2 separate regions of the Homo sapiens genome follow, and region 2 is linked to region 1. Evidence: promoter capture Hi-C in 16 types of primary human blood cells and fetal thymus (Javierre and others, 2016). All regions are on one chromosome and are shown on one strand. The core of a region is centred on a gene start or on the middle of the fragment in contact, and the rest is flanking DNA. Distances in the headings are between cores, read along the strand shown.

Evidence for each region. The method cuts DNA at HindIII sites, captures the fragments that hold promoters and counts their contacts. A CHiCAGO score of 5 or more calls a contact.
Region 2: a contact is called between the fragment with the promoter of MCM3 here and the fragment with the promoter of CD2AP in region 1, in 3 of 17 cell types (total CD8 T cells, naive CD8 T cells and non-activated CD4 T cells). The highest score is 8.8, in total CD8 T cells.

Annotation. Positions count from the first base shown.
Region 1 is chr6:47,475,182-47,481,532 of GRCh38, forward strand. It overlaps CD2AP (CD2 associated protein), which reads left to right and starts at 2,608. Exons shown (of 18, transcript NM_012120.3): 1 at 2,608-3,067. The coding sequence starts at 3,064. CD2AP-DT (CD2AP divergent transcript) reads right to left here and starts at 2,891. Exons shown (of 1, transcript NR_187257.1): 1 at 2,062-2,891. RefSeq lists a silencer at 2,370-2,879 and an enhancer at 3,166-3,892. The HindIII fragment of the contact is 1,754 bases long and covers 1,839-3,592 here.
Region 2 is chr6:52,282,400-52,288,750 of GRCh38, forward strand. It overlaps MCM3 (minichromosome maintenance complex component 3), which reads right to left and starts at 2,343. Exons shown (of 17, transcript NM_002388.6): 1 at 2,198-2,343; 2 at 895-1,007; 3 at 254-462. The coding sequence starts at 2,275. RefSeq lists enhancers at 2,221-2,300, 2,621-2,820 and a silencer at 4,900-4,969. The HindIII fragment of the contact is 4,216 bases long and covers 1-2,467 here.

The DNA of each region.
Region 1 (6,351 bases), core at 1,358-3,857:
TGCGATTACTTCTTAGATTTACTTCAGTTTTCTCAACCATTCTTAGGGGTTCTATTCCCTGATCCTTCCAATTTCTATGATTTGTCATCTCATCATTACCTCAATGGATAATGCCTCTGAATTTGCAAAGTGAATTTAACTTTTAAACTTGTAAAATACGTACATTAATTATGGCAATAACTGATGCTAGAATTTTTTTTTTTTTTTTTTTTGAGACAGGGTCTCACTCTGTCATCCAGGCTGGGTGGAGTGCAGTGGCAGGATCACAGTTCACTGCAGCCTCGACGGCCCTGGACTCAGGTGATCCTCTCACTTCCGCCTCCCAAGTAGTTGAGACCGCAGGCCTGTGCCACCATACCTGGGCTAATTTTTGTATTTTTTTTTTTTTTTTTTTTGTAGAGATGGAGTCTTGCTATGTTGCCCAGGCTGGTCTCAAACTCCTGGGTTCAAGTGCTCCTCCTCCCTTGGCCTCCCAAATTGCTGGGATTACAAGTGTGAAGATCCTGGAATTTCTAGGACATAAATGATTGTAAATGTTTTATCTTGTTGTCAGATCATGTGACCTGACTTCTCAGAAAATATCTACCTTATCTGTGGCCTCCACTTCCTTATCATTCAATTGATAAAACCTTTAATCTGAATTTTCTATTATATATATATTCTGAATATGTAGTTATATATTATATATTCTATTATATATATTCTGAAATTATATTTTCAAAGATGCCCTTATTATCAAATCTGATAGTCTTTATTCCCCCTTCTGTTTTACTTAACTTCTTTTCCATTCTATTCATTGGCCTTTCTTCTTTAAATATTAAGGATTCTAGAGACCTAGAAATTTAGTCTCTAGAAACTTAAGGGCTCTGGGCCTTGAATTTACTACCTATGTATGTGCTTCCAATAGCTTATATTTTTGTCTCCTTTCATGAATCCTTCTTAGCCCATCACCAGCCTCATTCTTCCAAATCGTAAATGGCCTTCCTTATGGGCTGCTTGAGCCACACACATTTCTTAAAGGCTCAGAAATACTCTGTTTGCATATCCACTTCCATTCCTCAGTTCTAGGACTCCTCCAGACTGAATTATTGCCTTCCCCAAGCTTTCGTTCAACTCATACCTTCTCTTTACAGCTTGCTTTGCCCACAGTAATTTATTTTCCTTTAAATTCTCAAGCATTTGACCCTCACTACCTCATACTGTTAATTAACTTTGTGTTCGTATCTCACCCCCCTAGAAGAATGCAAAATCTCTGAGGATTAGCGCTGTACTTTAGCTTTTTATTTTTTTGCTTGGTAGGGGACAACGAACATAATGCTGAACACATATTTGTTACCTAAAAAAGGCACATGTTCCATGATGTCAATGTAATCTTGTTTAGGTGAGTATATTCAACTTTTTTCTTTTATCCTTTTTGGCTGCTGTTTGTGAGTTTGATCATTCTTGTTATAAAATTACCACATGTAACCTTTTGAGAAGCATTAGAAGAATTAAAAGATGGCAAAAGCAGGCCTATAGGAAATAGTGGTAATGGATACGTCCAAGGTTACTACTATGGGCCACTGTGCTCTGCATTGCAAGATTTGTTTGAACATACTCAAGAAATTGAAGTTCAGACAGGTTAATTTATCCAAGGTCCCACAAAAAGTAAATGGCTGTGCTGAGTTTCAAGGACCCATGTCTGCCTGGATCCAAAGGGCAAGTCAGTTTCAGTGCTGGATGACTGAGAATTACAAAATTTCTTGAAAAAGCACTAGGCACAATAGTTGGCGTTCAACAAACGCTCACACACACATCTGCCCTGGAATTGGGTCTACTTAAACAGAAGGGGGAAAAAAAGCTTGCTGAAATAATTATACTTCTTCGTAACTACCAAGCTCATGTTTGACTGACTATAGTAATCCTATGCCCTCCTTCACATTGACGCTAGAAAAAATGCCTGGCAGTATTTCAAATCATGATGCCTATTTTTCTCTCGATCAAGTAACAACTCAAATTATACTTTAAAAAGAAAAAAAGCAAATTATAAAGTTGCATTCAGCTGACAAGAGACTAAAGGAATCTGTGAAACAGAATTTATTTGATGCCTAGGTTTCTCCCTCACCCGACGAAGACCAAATGCTGCTGATCCGTAAGTAACTTCGCAAGGTAAACTGAGGGGCCTGGCAGCATCTGGGCCTCCCTTAAAGGTCGAAATCAAGTGCGCTCGCCCTCCTTCTGTCCGCCTTTTCCCTTTAAGGTCCTCGAGGCTGCTTCGCTGCAGAAAGTAACTCCGCGTCGCCGCCGCGGAAAGTGGGGCAACTTTGCCTATCAGCAGAAACCTTTTGATCCATCTGAGGCGACAAACCAGACCAAACGCCCGCCCAAGCTGTTCCGAGCCTCCGGGGGGAGAGCGAGCCCAAGCTCCTCTGCACCGCTTCCTCATCCGCTCGCTGCACCTGGACGCGGTCGGCGCGCGACCCCCGGCCGTGACGTCACCGCACCTGGCAGCAGCCGTGGGGACCGGGAGAGAGCCCGAACGCGACGGGGCGGGGTGGGGCGGGGAGAACGAGGGCGTTCTCGCGAGATTTGCCTCCTCCCGGTCCCAGCTCCCCGCACCTTCTCGGCCTCTGTCTGGGTCCCCACCTTAGTCTACGGTGTCGCCTTTTCTAACTGCGAGTGCTAAGGAAGAGGCGAGGGGCGGGCTCCGAGGCTAGGCGGGCGCTCGGGGTTGGAGCCGAGGGTCTGGGCAAACCGGTGGGTCCCTCCCCACTGCGGGAGCGGCCAGGGTGGGAAAACCGCGGTCGGGCGGGCGGGGTAGGGCCCTCCCGCCGCCGTGGCTCCTGGGGAGGCCAGGGGTGAGGAGCTGTCGCCGCCTTTGCCTCTGCCTCGAGGGCCGCGCTGAAGAGACTGGTAGGAGAGCGCCGCGGGCGGATGGAGGCGACTCTTCGCCCCGCCTGAGCTCAGGAGGGGCTAGCGCGGAGCGCGGGTCCCGCCTCCAGCCGCGGGAGCGGCCGCGCGAGCCACCACTGGAGGAGGAGGAGGAGGAGCGGACGTCGGCTTCTCCCCGCGGGAGCCCCCAGCATGGGTAAGAGACTCGGGCGCTTCCCGCCGCCCGTCCGGACCTTCCAGACCCGGGGAGGCTGTGCCCTTTCTCGGCCTTCTGGGGAGGCGACTGCGGTCAGCCCCTGAGCGGCAGCACCCCACCCTCTCCATTCTCCCCACCGCCCCTTCTTGCCCTGCCTTCCACCTTGCTCTTCTCACGGAGAAACTGGTGGGAGAGCTCGCGGGTGCTTTCCCTCGCTCTCCCTTCTCCGCCTCTTTTCCTGTTCACCAGAAAGGTGCGGGATGGGGGGCGGGGGCGCCTGGCCACCTCTGCTAACCCCTTGCCCAGCTAAAATCAGACCTGACCTTCCTTCCCTTCCTCATCCCCTTGCTTCCCTCCCCCTCCTCGTGGGATGGGGGAGGGCGATCGAAAAACTTGATAAAGTAGCACTTTCAACTTCTTTATTTTCTGCGAGGCTTTGAATACGTTTAAGGAGAGAGATAAATTTGTTCAAAAACTTTTTTTTTTTCCTGCTGAAACTCGCAAGGGGTGCCTCAAGGACAGGAAAGCTTGAGTATTTGTTTTACTCGGGTTCTACCTAGGCAAGTGTGTTGGCACCTAAGCATTCAGTGTGCTCCCGAGGACTGGGTTTGGACTTCAGTGTTGGATCCTTTGAGGAGCAGTTTCCTGTTTGGAGTTAGACTTCCTTGCCGGAGGAGAGAAAAATACAAGGCCTTATATGTTATTTACTATGTGCTTTATAGTTTTGTTTGAAGTTAGAGAAGGCAGAATGTGTGGCAGTCCGGGTTGAAAAGGAGTTTTGTTAAGTGGTGTAACAATTTCTTTTGATAACAAAGTTCGGTGTGGGCTAGGCATTAAACTAACTCCCTCAATCCTTTAAAAATTAAAAGCAACTTAAGAATAGCTTACAAAAAACAAAACACCCTGTGTCTCTATAAGGCAGAACGTGTTCTGTAAGAGTAAACCCAAGTTTGATTTTTGTAGAGCAAATCAGGAGGACCCTATCACTTTTTGCAGTTGAGAGTTGGTACTGCTTCATATCAACAAACGATCACCGAAATGAATAATTCATGTAATTAACAAATGATTTAGAAGCAGGACGAATACAGACTACTGCTGATGTGGCACCCTCTGTCCACACTTTGCTTTGTGGGGGATGTTTTGAGCATATTGTTTATAGACACTCGCCTAGCTATCCTCTGTTTTCTTAGACTTTTCTAATTTTATGTTCCCTTCTCCACCTCCCTCCTTTCAGGTAACTTTCATACTCAAAAGTGCTCTTGAGCTCAAAAACAGTGAAATAAAACATTTGCTATTTGGAATTTTCAAATGAATTATTTTATAATTGATTAGTTGAGCTTGCAGGGCAATTGTGGGCATATTCTTTTAAGTATGAAATTATAAAATCACTTTAACTGCTTTGGATTAAGATAATACTAAAGTTAATTACACAGTTCTTTTCTGTCTTAAATGGGATGCAGAATAAAATTAAACTACTTTGGATGACCTGGGGATGCAGTCTTGTTTTGCATATAGGGCTTTTGAGCTAAATTCTAAATAATATTTGTTCGCATTTTGAAATTATTTAAATACTTTTTTTTTTTGCTTTGCTTTTGGATGTGCTTGTAACTGATTAGTGTCCCCCATCATCTTTCCTTTTCTAATTTTTTTTTAGAAGTGTGGAAATCATATTCAGGTTTGTGATTCTGCATAGGGGAAAAATCAGTAGGCCGTTACTTAGTGTGTGAGGTCGTCTCTGGAGAAAAGTAAATGTGTACCAATACTTGGACATTGGAATACCTATTTTGATTGTCCAGAGGCTTTTTCTTTGTGATTTATTTGTTGTGTTCTGTTTAGGTGAGTTTTCATATAGACTTGGATATCAATGTTGGTATACTCTCGACTACTTAGAATGTGTTTTGAAGGTATGTTACTGAGGGCATTTGTGGTTAAGTTTTTGTAAAGTGTTTGTGAAACATTTCCATATCAATATATATATTCTTTAAGTTTATTGGTCATGTAATAATAAAATTCCCAAGTTCACTTAAAGGGAGTTTGCTCTTTAATATAAATCTCATTTATTTGGTTTTACCAGCCATCCTTTTTTCTTATGATTTTAGATGCAGCCTAAAATATTTACATGATATTTTATCTAATTTGTCACAAAATGAAAAAATCTGAAATTTTTTTTGTGTGTAAGATAATTTGGATGCCTATTAAATGGTGGTTCTTAAGTTTAGGTGGTACAGCTAGAGAGTTAAAAGCATGGGCTCTGGACAGAGACTACTTGAGGTCAAATTCTCTTCTACCTACTGGCTGTGTGACTGAGCACATTACTTCTCTGTGCTTCAGTTTCTCAATCTATAAATGGAATAAAATATCAACCTCATAGGTTGTTAGGAGGATTGAATGAGTTACTACTTGTAAAGTGCTTAGAACACTGCCAGTGCTGGCGGTGGTGATTTTCATTTTCAAATGATTTCCCTAATTCTTGTACCAACTTGGGAAAAAAAAAATCTCAATTTTTGACCTTTGTTAGAAGTAGGATATTTTCTTTAAATAAAGGACCAGAGGGATGAGATGATTTTGCACTAAGGCAGAAATTGAATTTTATGTGATATAACCTTACAGAAACCACATAGATACTTTTTTCAATGTTGGATGTACTGTGCGAAAGTCCATTATTGGTAAGAGCTTTAGTTGCTTAGGAAAAACTCTTAAGTGGGATGACTACTAGTAGACTTATTTGAAGTTTATGTTTTTAGTGTCTACATTTGTTAAATGTGATAAAATGCCTATTGAGAAGTTTGAGGTATTCTGTGTGAAAGAATTTGGGAAGAGCTCTAGGGAGACAGATAGGCAGTGCTTATTTTTCTTATTCCAAAAATACAGATCGGCATTTTGGAGCAGAATTAGGCAGAAAGCAAATGGCACAAAGTGTCAGAGCATTTCTAGAGCACAAAAAAGGAATATTTGTGAATTTTTATTTTTGGAAGAGTAAGCAGACTTCTAAGGGCAGAATTTCTCTTTAATAATTTTAGATAAGGCGGTGAACTTTTTAGTTTATTTTATAGGCTCTCGTATATAAAACATATCAGTCATGTGGTGGTGTTTTTTTGTTTGTTTGTTTGTTTTTTTGATGGAGTTTTGCTCTGTTGCCCAAGCTGGAGTGCTGTGGTGCGATCTCGGCTCACCGCAACCTCCGCCTCCTGGGTTCAAGGGATTCTCTTGTCTCATCCTCCTCAGTAGCTGGGATTACAGGTGTGTGCCACCATGCCCAGCTAATTTTTGCATTTTTAGTAGAG
Region 2 (6,351 bases), core at 1,093-3,592, 4.8 Mb after region 1:
TTAGAGGTTGGAATTAGAGATTGCCAGGAACCAAGACTCCTCCAGCTCTCAGCAGAATTCATCATTCTACTAATACATGTGATTACTCAAGGTCCCCCAATCATTGTACACACTGAGCCCTCCAAGTTTTACCACGTAATTCCAATGCTCCACCTCTTTGAAGCCACAAGCTACCCAGATCTACTTTGCCTCTCCTGCTTTCCCCATCTCCCTGTCTATTCATTTCCTAAGCGGCCCCCTTTAACCCACTTACATTTAGTGACAATGCCCTCCACACAGACCACACAGCTGAGGAAGCAGGAGGTAAGAGTCCGCGGGGAGACGTGCTTGGAGCCAAAGCTGCCTTCCAGTCCTACGTAGAACTCCTCATACTGCTTGGCATAGGTAGCATCAATGGAGGCCACAAAATCCTTTAAGGCCCGCTGGAAGGCAACCAGCTCCTCAAAGGCATTGTTCAGAAGCCTGTACATAAGCAAGAGAAAGAAAAATTAGACTGGGCAGAACTCAAAAAAATGGATCCTCAAAACAGCAGACATTCTTAGATCATTAAAAACAATGAGAAAATCCAGCTTCTGCTTTCTCCTATAAGTCTCAGTAAAACACCATCCTATAAGACTCAGTAAAATACCAGAACTAAGGACCAACTTCACCTCAACTTATCAAAGATATAAAAATGATATTCAGCTAAACATTGGAAGGAGGGGCATTTGGGAGGAAAATGCCAACCACCCACTTTTTGAAAAAAAAAAAAAAAAAAATAGGTGCAGGTGAGCTACGAGGGCTTGTAGATCAATCCTGTTTCATACAAGTCCTCTCCTGAGAGGCTGTTCCAATCTGGCCAAGAGGGAAGGGAGCCATTCTCACTGACAGCCAGTATATCCCCTTGCCTCTCACCGGTTAGCCCTCTTCTCGTTTTTCCTGCGCAGGTCATTCACATTGACAATCAGCCGGTATTGGTTGTCACTGATCAGCTCCCGAACTTTGCTCTGATAAATTCCCTGGTCTTCCTGCAAAACAGCCACCACATATCACCATAGCCACAAATTTAAAAACAATGTTTCTAAACAGAAGTAGTTCTCATAGCCAGATAGCTAAGTCAATCTCTGCAGCAGAGCTGAATCCCCAGTAAGTATGTGCTCATCAATTTCTCCCTTTCATTCACTGTTTTTAGATTCGAAATAACACCCTAAGAGGGGACTATAAGAATTATAATGACTTCCTCAAGGTCCATGCTGTTATTCCCATCATCATGGACAACTTTTCTGCATGCTGTAATTTCTGTCTTTAGTGGAGAATTAAAATGAGCTCATGAGAAGTCTAAATGGACAGTAAGTGCAAACTTTGTTAAAATGTTAAGTTAAACCTAGCAATGTGAATGTTAAAGGTAACAACGTGAATAGATGGATATGTTGTTTCACTGTAGTAATCATTTCACCATGTATATCAAAACATGTGCACTTCAAATATATACAATAAAAATGTAAATAAAACAGACTCTTAATAGTCACATTAAAATGGCTTTTCATTTAAGAATTATGTAAAAAGTAATATTTTTTCCAATCATCTCTATAATACGGAAAGGGTTCTCATACCCCGACCTAAAGGAATAGAGAATCTCAGCTATTTGGTCACATCATCAACCCTTCAAGATGGTTTTTTCAACATTCTATGGCTTTAAGTCTTGGGTTGCACATAAAATCCCCTTGGCCTGCACACAAAACACTTTTTATCTGCATCTTAGTTGGTATTGAAAAAGAATGCAGCCGAATTATGGAGTCTTTTCCTCCAGGTAAAACGTCAGTCCCTAAAATCTGAGCACTCTGCAACGCGGCTGGTCACTATAGCCCTAGGGCAGCCCCTCCCCCACAGTCTCCTCAAATCAAGAGAGAGCAGTGAAATGCAAAAGGCCGAGGTGGGCTTTGCCAATCTGCTTGCACTTAATGGGAACCTGTCGCCTTTTGCGCGCCCGGACCATCGCTTGTACTTAAGAGAAAGCTGGCTTCCTAAGAGTTCACTTATCGAACACAAACTAGCGAGTCCGGCGTTGAGAAGTTACAAGATTGGGGCTGGAGGCTCGGGCCCGGCAGGCTCCGCTGCGGCACACGGTCTGGAGGTCTGGCGGGCCTCTGGCTTCCCGGCCGGGCCGCGTCCGCAGGGGCTCCGAGCGCTAGAGCCCGCGCGCCGGCGCCTCCCTCACCTCGTCGTCCAGGAAGTCCAGGTAATCTCTCTGAGCCTCCCGCAGCTCCACATCGTCCAGCACCACGGTACCCGCCATGCCCGCTGCCAAAGAACTACCTCCACCAAAGTCGCGTGGAGGTTCCCAGGATGACTCCACCCCGGCGCGAAAACTTCCGAACTCTTCCCGCCACCAAAGGTTACCTCGAGGAAGAGGCGGGGACCTTGGGAGCATATAAGCATTATGATTGGCTGAGTTCTCTGAGGTCGGACTAGCGACTGTCCAATCAAAAGCTTCTTCTTCTTCGGGTTTTCCGCTGCGCGCCCCGCGGTGGCGGGAAACGTACCATCCGGGATTCTCTGTTCCTCCCCTCCCTCCGCCTCACTCACTGACGAGCAAACTGACCAATAGGGCTGAGAGGAGGCTCACAGAGGCTGGTCATTGAGCAGCTGGAGGGGACAGGCTGGCGAGAGGGAAAGCATTGCGTTCTGGGAGTTGTAGTGTTCTCCCTCCTTTCCGGATGTTTTTGCAGGGTTTTTCAAGCTGCAGAACTTTTGACCCGATGCAACGACCAAATTCAGAGGATGGTGCTTTATAACGCAGGGAGATGAAAACATAAAAGCAAATCATTTTTAAGATATATCCAAATCAGAACTGCCCTCCAGTGGCATCCTAGTGTAAAAGTGGATTTTGAGAATCTATAGGATAGAATATAGAACTACAGTACCTTAGGGAAAGATTAGTTAAAAACCCATTTGCTATCTGATACCGTTGCCTGACGAACTCCATAAAGACATCGCCGCAGAGAAGGATGAAGTGAAAAAAAAAATCTGTGTTTACCCTGCCCCCTAGAGACTTCATCGTGTGTTATACAAATTTTGGAAACCGTTACTACTCCATCTTACTTAATAACAGGTAAATTAAAGGCTTTCTGGTCTTATAAAAAGATCACAAGATCCTTTTAAGTAACTTAGCTTACTGAACGATCAGCTCAAGAGGGGAAAAAGTGTTTCACGTCACTTTGATTAAATATCAATCAGTAACTAACAGCAAATCTGAAACCATAATGACTAAAAGATCATCGCACGTCCAAATTTGTATGTTTGTTTTCAGTCCGTCGTGGTTGGCTTTTTCTTATATTTCTAGTTTTATTTTGAGATATAATGTATATACAGTAAAATGCACAAATCTTAAGTGTACAGCTCAGTGAATTTTTACCTGTGCTTACACCCATGTAACCACTCTGCACAATAAAGAGCAAGCCCATTGCCCCAGCATGTGTTTTTAATTTTACTGAACAAGAAGCTGAAATACTGGATTGCCCAACATCAGACATTTGATAATTCTTTATCTGAAATTTCAGCCAACTATTAGCTTATGTTTTAAAGTCTTCAGGACTCACTATGTACTGATAAATATTCTAAGAATAATCTGCCTAAACAAAATATATAGGCCATCTATTTGTGTGGGTATATGTATTTCTAGTTATTATTCAGTTTATAGTTACTGTATGTTTTGTGCCATCCTAGTGGGCAGATAAATCGATCCTTAGCCAAAGCAAAAAGGCTGTCATTTGACTGCTTGCTTTTATGTTTATTAACGGGCAAAAAAAAAAGAAAATTCTAGAATAAAGATACTGTTTGCCGTTATATAGCAAGAGGTAATTACTGATTTATTAAGACTTTTTACTCATAACTCTTATTTTATGAACTTATTGGACAGAGTACTGAGATATCCTCTGCTCTGGAAACAATTTGAAATTAACACTAAAAGAACCGGGAAGCTTAGTTCAAACTAGCAAAGAAGTCGAGTCATTTGTAGTAGAAAGTCCAAAAGAGTGGAAATCTGAAAACCACATCTTTGATTCTCACACTTTTTTCTGGGCTTGTTTCCTTATATACAGTATAAGATGAAGAAACTGAATTAGAATATCTCTGATAATCTGTCTTACTCTAACATTCCATGAGCTAATGGCAAATTTGGAAACTATGTAAAGACAATTCTATTTAATGAATTAATCATGCCATGGTCTTTGATAAAGACTTGATTTGTCCCAATATAATCATCTTCAGCTGTGAAGGACACACCGCTATTTAATTGGTGTTTCTCCCTTCTTTCATTAGGGCATGAAATCTTTAAGCAGAGGAAATGTATTTCCTTTGTTATCCCCGACACCTGCAAACTGCCCAAAATCAATCAGGTTGTTGCTACAGAAAAATTAGGGGCATTTGTACATATCTCATAAAAAGTCCAGCTGAGCTTAGCCCGTAGTCCTCCTCTATCCTGATTCAAAATTAAAAAGCACATATAATCTAATAAAGTAGTGTATCTACAGTTTCCATACTTGGGTCACATTCCTGCTTTCCTCCATTTCAATTTTCTTTCCACCCTAGACTTTAATGGACTCAAGCCCATCTCCAAGGCTGCCTAAACGCTAGGGGGCTCCCTGGAGAGCAGAGTATACAGGAAGAGAATGGAAAGAAAACAAGATTGCAAAGAGATTGCAAAATAGATGTAATACTGCCATTTTTCTATGTCCTCAGGGTCCAAAAAATACCCAAAGACACAATACAAATCCATAATAAATATTATTACAAGAAATTATATATACCTTTGTTCAAACTAATGAACATTATATGTTGCAAAACATTTCAAATAATACCCTGTAATTAATAACTTGTTTAGGCACTCAGGAAAGTGCCATAATTCATTAGCAGTCCTTTGACATTTACTCAAAGGCCACCAAAGCTTGGAGGTGAGCAAATCTATGCCTCCAGGTGTCACAGCAGCTCAAGGAATAATCTGTAGGCACAGGCTTGCCCTAACCTCACAGTTCTGCAGTGTGAAGTCAGAATCTTCAGATGCTGTAGCATCTAGAGTTTCAAGCACCAAGACAGGCAGATTTGGTTACTCTTTCTGGCTGCTCTGTATATTACCTGCACGACTAGGCAACTTACTTAACCACTCTGTGCCTCAGTTTCTTCACCTTTCAAATTAGGTTAGTAGTATCTAACTCAAATGTTTAAGTATCCAGTGAAGTCATAACAGATGTAAACTACTGAAAAAAGTGCCTGGTATGTAGTAAGCATTAAATAAATGTTAACCATTGGTAGTGGTGGTGAATGGTAGTTGGAGAGGAGTCAAGGGATAGGAGAAGGGGAGGAAGCACTGTAGTGCATTCTGAAACAATTCAGACAACCAAATTCAAACCCCCTTCCCACTTCCACCAAAAAACTTACAATACAACCAACCCAGACACTTCCTTGAGTGGGACCTTTTTCTGCTGGAAGTCCAATTGGCTAAAAAAAATAACATAGGCAGGGTGTTGTTTGGCTCGGATTCCGACAGTGTTGGAAGCCATCAGATGCATTTACTCCATGCTCAAAGAACATTATGGAATACTAAATGGACTCCTTTATAAAACTCTTTTAAAAGAGTCTGGTCAGCCGGCACAGTGGCTCACACCAGTAATCCTAGCAATTTGTGAGGCCGAGGCAAGTGGATCACCTGAGGTCAGGAGTTCAAGACCAGCCTGGCCAACATAGTGAAACCCCGTCTCTACCAAAAATACAAAAAAATTAGCTAGGCATGGTGGCCGGCACCTATAATCCCAGCTACTTGGAAGACTGAGGCAGGATAATCGCTTGAACCCAGGAGGCGGAGGTTGCAATAAGCCAAGATCACGCCATTGCACTCCAGCCTGGGTGACAAAAGTGAAACTCTGTCTCAAAAAATAAATAAATAAACGAGTCTGATCACCTTTCTTGTCTCCCTTTTGCACTCTTCTGTTGCTTCCTGGAGTCCTTCCGGTTAGATATGCTAAAAAGAGCCGGAAAATCCAGGAGCCAGACAGAGAACATCAGTGATCATGATTTTCCCATTAAATATAACAACACAGTTGGCTTGCCAACAATTAGTGATTCATTGGTATTTGCCAAGGTTAATTTCAGTAATCTGATTTCTTAGTCCGTAAGAAGTCATCCCCATTCTTTTTCTTTCTGAGAGATAGGTTCACTATGCTGCCCAGAATGGTCTTAAACTCCTGGCCTCAAGTGATCCTACCACCTTGGCGTGAGCCACCATGCCCAGCCCCCATTCTTTTTTTTTTTTTTTTGACGAAGTCTCGCTCTGTCGCCCAGACTGGAGTGCAGTGTGCAATCTCGGCTCACTGCCAC